Regions from separate parts of the Homo sapiens genome. Here region 1 is linked to region 2. Evidence: promoter capture Hi-C in human tissues and cell types (Jung and others, 2019). All regions are on one chromosome and are shown on one strand. Each heading gives the region's core, a stretch centred on a gene start or on the middle of the fragment in contact. The rest is flanking DNA. Distances are from core to core; before and after follow the strand shown. Region 1 overlaps RAD9B (RAD9 checkpoint clamp component B). Region 2 holds the start of MYL2 (myosin light chain 2).

Region 1 (2,835 bases), core at 216-2,715, 390 kb before region 2:
AGGGCTCATTCATTTGTTGTCTTGTGGTACTGTGCAGCTCCAAGTATTTCTTGAGAGCTGTGTCCTAGACAGCCATGCGAGGGATACTACAGTGAACAAAATAAACAAGCTTCCTCAACTTGTTTAGAGACTAGAGCGGGTATCACGTATCGGGACTAGGGTATAGGTATAACATGACTAAATATATAATTTTTGAAAGGCTGTGTTTAGTTCAATAAAGGAGAAGTTCAGGGTGCTTGGAGAAGATTTAATGGTATGTACTGCCTTAATCCAGGTCAGAACGTCTTCCCCTTGAAACTGGTGTTTGAGCTGAGCTGGAAAGGATGAGGGCATGGGGGTGGGAGTAGAGCTCAGGGAGGGCGGCCTGTGCAAAGGCCCCAGCAGGGGAGGGAGCCTGGGGGCTTGAAGGAGCTGAGGGATGGCCACTGTGGTTGGAGATCAGAGCCAGAGGGAGACAGTGGCACAAGGGGAGGCTAGAGTGCTTGGTAAGAGCCAGATCATGCTGGAGAGTCCTGGAAGCTGTGCAAGCGGCCAAAGTACCTGGGTATTTAAAATATTTGAATGGCTTTACCTGGGAGGGCTGACAGACTGAATGTTGACTGGATGACTTTAGCTGAAAGTGTTATATGAAAAACGGGCTTCAGTGAGGCAATAGTCACCCAATTGTAGCATCTGAGAGATGGTGATTACTTAGATGAGAAGTGGAGAGAGGCGGCTGAAATAGTTCATTTAGGAGCCAAAACTAGCAGGACTTGGTGATGGATTGGTTATGGGGGTTAAGGAAAAAGGTATCCAGGGAGGTCTTAGGTTTGGAGAAGTAGATTCAGGGCTTAGTAAGATCATGAATTCAGTTTTGGATATGTTAAGGGAATGCTAATTGCATGTAGCGGGTAAAGACCCGCAGTGCCGCCCACCATCTTCCTCCCTGCAGGACAGCTCTACACCAAAGACTCATAAGGCCTCAAATGGCAGCAGCGCTGAGGTTAAGTAACCCAAGTTCAGAGGCTGCTTAGAAGAGGGCAAGCTGGCTGAGCTGAGATTAGCCAGGAGAGTGCGGCATGAGAAAGATGTCAGAGTGAATAACAAGTGGGGAGGACTGAAAATGGGTCCTGACTTTAAGGATGTGGTAAATTCTGTTGACCATAAGTTTCTGTGATATGGGGGTCAGTGAGGGAGAAGCTTTTTTTGTTGTTTTTGTTTGTTTGAGACAGTCTTGCTCTGTTGCCCAGGCTGGAGTGCAGGGGCACAATCTTGGCTCACTACAACCTCCACCTCCCGGGTTCAAGTGATTTTTGTGCCTCAGACTCCCAAGTAGCTGGGATTACAGGCATGCATCACCACACCCAGCTAATTTTTTGTATTTTAGTAGAGACAGGGTTTCACCATCTTGCTCAGGCTGGTCTCGAACTCCTGAGCTCAGGTGATCCACCCGCCTTGGCCTCCCAAAGTGCTGGGATTACAGGCGTGAGCTACCGTGCCGGGCCTGGAGAAGCTTTTTTTAAGTAAAGAGTAGGAGAATGAGAAGATGGAGACAGTGGGTGTAGACAGCTCTACAATTAGAGATAAAGCAGTAACTGAAGGGGGAAATGGGATGAGGTTAGGCTATTTGTTTGTTTGTTTAGAGATGGAGTTTCGCTCTTGTTGCCCAGGCTGGCAGTGGCTCAATCTCAGCTCACTGCAACCTCTGCCTCCCAGGTTCAAGTGATTCTCCTGCCCCAGCCTCCCTAGTAGCTGGGATTACAGGTGCCCGCCACCATGCCCAGCTAATTTTTTGTATTTTTAGTAGAGACGGGGTTTCACTATGTTGGCCAGGCTGGTCTCGATCTCCTGACCTCAGGTGATCCACCTGCCTCAGCCTCCTAAAGTGCTGGGATTACAGGCGTGGGCCACCGTGCCTGGCTATTTCTGTATTTTAAAGATAAGAAGACTGAGCACAGTGGCTCATGCCTGTAATTCTAGCACTTTGGGAGGTGAAGGCAGGAGGATTGCTTGAAGCCAGGAGTTTGAGACCAGCCTGGGCCACGTAGCAAGACCTGGTCTTTACGGAAAAAAAAAAAAAGGCTGCGCATGGTTGTGCATACCTGTAGTTACAGCTACTCCAGAGGCTGAGGTGGGAGGATTGCCCAGGAGTTTGAGGCTGCGGTGAGACGTGATCACACAGCTGCACTGCAACCTGGGCAATAGGGCAAAACCTGATAACAAATAAAAAGGTGAAGATGAGAGGCATTTGAGCATTTGAAAATGCTAACATTCCCAGGGTGCTGGGATGCAGAGATAGGGAGGAAAGGACTGGCTTTAACTTGGAAGAGTGGCTTCTGCCGTAGCAGGAGGGGAAGGGAAGAAGATGGATTAATTAATCCAGTGGCTTACGGAGGCTTCGTTGACCTCTGCCTCTCAGTTCTGGTGGAAGCTTTGATGGCTCAGGAGGGGAGTCAGCAGCAGACCATTGATCCCAAACTGAAGATTGTCATGTGCCTTTGAAGGCAGGGAAAGGTTTGTTTTTTTTGTTTAATTTTTTGAGATGGAGTCTTGCTCTGTCCCCAGGCTGTAGTGCAGTGGCACGATCTCGGCTCACTGCAAGCTCCGCCTCCCGGGTTCACGCCATTCTCCTGCCTCAGCCTCCCGAGTAGCTAGGACTACAGGTGTCCGCCACCACACCCAGCTAATTTTTTTTTGTATTTTTAGTAGAGACGGGGTTTCACCATGTTAGTCAGGATGGTCTCGATCTCCTGACCTCGTGATCCGCCCACCTTGGCCTCTCAAAGTACTGAGATTACAGGCGTGAGCCACCATGCGCGGCCAAGGTTTGGTTTTAGGACGTGTTGGACCAATAAT
Region 2 (2,981 bases), core at 1-2,500:
ACTCAGGTCTCCAAACGGTGATGCTGGAGGGAGCAAAGGACATGACATGAAGTTTCTCCAGAGCCCTCTGGTACCAGTGGATCATAAGCGTTTGTGCATCTTGCAGTGGCTCCTTCACCAACTAGGAGAAGCCACAGGTGTGTCCCTGGGGATGGAGGCCACACCTTCAGATCGCCCCTGCAGGATCCAGCCACTTTTGTTCTGATGCATTTCACAAAAAGCTCAGTAATGCACAGAAGGAGAATTGATTGGAGGGAAAGAAAAAGTCAGGCTCACTAAGCCATGATGAATGCCAAGATGAAATGACAGTTCTTCAAGGTGTTAAAACCCAACTGCGCCCCACACCCCACAATTTTCCCTTGCTCCAAATGGCAGCAAAACCTCCTCTCTGAATGCTCCGTCCTTGCACCACATCAATAGGGCAGAGAAGAGCGAGTTGACCTTTCTTCCCCACCCCACTTCTCTCTGACTTTCAATAACAGCAAATGATTCGGTACTCTACATATGTATTATTTAATTCTCATAACCACTCTGTCAAGTGGATACTATTATTATCATCCCCATTTTACAGGAGAGGCAACTGAGGCTCAGAGAGGTTGGGTCACTTGCCCAAGATCACACAGCCACACACACAGAAGGCAGAGCCGGAGTTGAACTTGGGCGTTGAACTTGGGGAGTTGAACTTGGGCATTCTGACTCCAGAGTTCCTGCCTCTAACCACTCTCCCTCCTGTGCTGACCCTGATTTGGGGACTGCCCACTTCAGGAGGGGGACACCTAACCCAACAGCACAGAAAGAAAGGTTTTAAATTTGCAAGTTCAAAAGGTGAAAACAAAAACATTCTTTTTCCCAGCTGCCTGAACAAGAGAAAAGAATTACAATTTGATCCTTAAAAGCATTCAATCCCATTTTGCAAGTCCTGGGAGTTATTGATTCCTCGAGAGGTCAGTAGACAAGCCATAAAAAAGCCAACTCTCTTATTTTGTGTTTGTGAGTCCCCGAGAGCTGCTGTTATTTGTGGCCTATCGGGGCATTGATTGGGGTTCCTCTGTGCCCGCGCAGTCAATGGGGCTTTTTCCACAAGGGGCTGGAGGCTTTGAGGGCCGCCTTCCTCCCCCTCCGCCGTGGTCCCTCGCTTGTAGTGGCTTCCTCTCCTCGCCCACCCGGCATCATCACCTCCTGGAGCCCTTGTACTCACCATGGTGGAAAGGACCCAGCACTGCCTCCCGAGAAGAATTCCACACTCCGCCCAGCTCTCTGCAGCCCAGGAACAATAAATACTTCCTCCCCATGTTTAAAAATAACCCCATGACCGCTTTTGGCAGTCATAGGTGAGGCGGGCACCACCTAAGGCCCCCCCACCCCATGCCGTTCTTCTGAAGTAAGGGTGGCTCACTCGCCACTGGGTGACACGTGAGCCCCCAAAAAGGCATTCAAGGTTAAAGAGGCAGTAGCTGGGTCATGGTCACGGGGAGAGATGCTGCGCGCTCTCTGCGGTGCTTGGGCCGGGGACACTTGTGCTTGTCAATTTTGAGAAAAAAAATGGCAGGGAGAGGAGACTGCTAAAATGCTCTGTTTTATCAGCCTGGATCTGGCCTCAGGGTCTTTGCACCTGTGTGCCCTCTACCTGGAATGTCTTTCTGTCAGTCATCGCACGGCTCCTTCCTTCACCTCCTTCACTGCATCTTTGCTCATATGTCATCTCCTGAGTGAAGCCTCCCCGACCACCATCTTTAAAATAACCATGAAGGCTGGCACTGTGGCTCATGCCTGAAATCCCAGCACGGCGGGAGGCCGAGGCGGGAAGATTGCTTGAGCCTAGGAGTTTGCGACCAGCCTGGGTGACATAGGGAGATGCCTGTCTCTACGCAAAAGAAAAAAAAATAGCTGTGCGTGGTGGTGCATGCCTATAGTCTCAGCTATTCAGGAGGCTGGGACAGGAGGATCACTTGGGCCCGGGAGGTTGAGGCTGTGGTGAGCCACGATCACACCACTGCACTCCAGCCTGGGTGACAGAGCAAGACCCTGTCTCAAAACAAACAAATAACACAGCCACGCACCTCCTGCGCTCCGATCTCCCTTCTTTGTTTCTCTGCACAGCGTGAGGCAGTCCCGAACACTGCCCACAGTGCACTGACTCATTTTCTTCAGCATCTGTGGAGCGTCAGCTCAGAGGGCAGGGATCACTTTAGTTTCCCTCACCACTGACTGTCTCCCCAGCTCCCAGCTCATGATGCACACAGCAGCAGCTCAAAAATAAATATTTGTTGACTGAAGAAATGACAAATCTCATTGACTGAGCACTGGCACGTGCCGGACACTATGTGCTCATGGCTCCCACACATAATTTTCCAGCCACCCTAGAGGGTGGGGACCACCTCATCATCCATGCCCCCATTTTACAGATGCGGAAACAAAAGCTCAGAGAGGCGAAGTGAGCTGCCCAGGGTCACACAGTGATGGAGCTAGGCGTGGACCCCTCTGGAGGCCCCTTTGTCTCCAGAGTCCAGGCTCTTTAAGAGCCTTGAAAACAGCAGCTGCTCTCAGAATGCAAGGTGTCATTATATAATACTTTTACTGAAGACAGCTTTCCTGCTGGGTGCAGTGGCTTATACCTGAAATGCCAGCACTTTGAGAGGCTGAGGCGGGTGGATCACTTGAGTCAGGAGTTCAAGACGACCTTGGCCAACATGATGAAACTTGTCGCTACTAAAAATACAAAAATTAGCCAGGCGTTGTGGCGCGGGCCTGTAGTCCCAGCTACTCAGGAGACTGAGGCAGGAGAATCGCTTGAGGCCGAGAGGCAGAGGTTGCAGTGAGCCGAGATAGCGCCATTGCACTCCAGCCTGGGCGACAGAGTGAGACTCTGACTCAAAAAAAAAAAAAAAAAAAAAAAGGACGGGCATGTTGGCTCACACCTAGCACTTTGGGAGGCCGAGGCGGGTAGATCACCTGAGGTCAGGAGTTCAAGACCAGTCTGG

What was found. Contacts are between HindIII fragments. The study calls those that stand out against the background at their distance.
Region 1: a fragment that was not itself captured here is called in contact with the fragment with the promoter of MYL2 in region 2 in 1 of the 25 tissues and cell types used here (spleen).

The regions. Positions count from the first base shown.
Region 1 is chr12:110,527,544-110,530,378 of GRCh38, forward strand. The region is part of intron 10 of RAD9B (RAD9 checkpoint clamp component B); the gene reads left to right. Among named protein-coding and RNA genes, the nearest start is that of RAD9B, 27 kb to the left of the region's middle. RefSeq lists an enhancer at 2,778-2,835. The HindIII fragment of the contact is 4,060 bases long and covers 1-2,835 here.
Region 2 is chr12:110,919,329-110,922,309 of GRCh38, forward strand. It overlaps MYL2 (myosin light chain 2), which reads right to left and starts at 1,251. Exons shown (of 7, transcript NM_000432.4): 1 at 1,199-1,251. The coding sequence starts at 1,201. RefSeq lists an enhancer at 1-2,059. The HindIII fragment of the contact is 26,604 bases long and covers 1-2,981 here.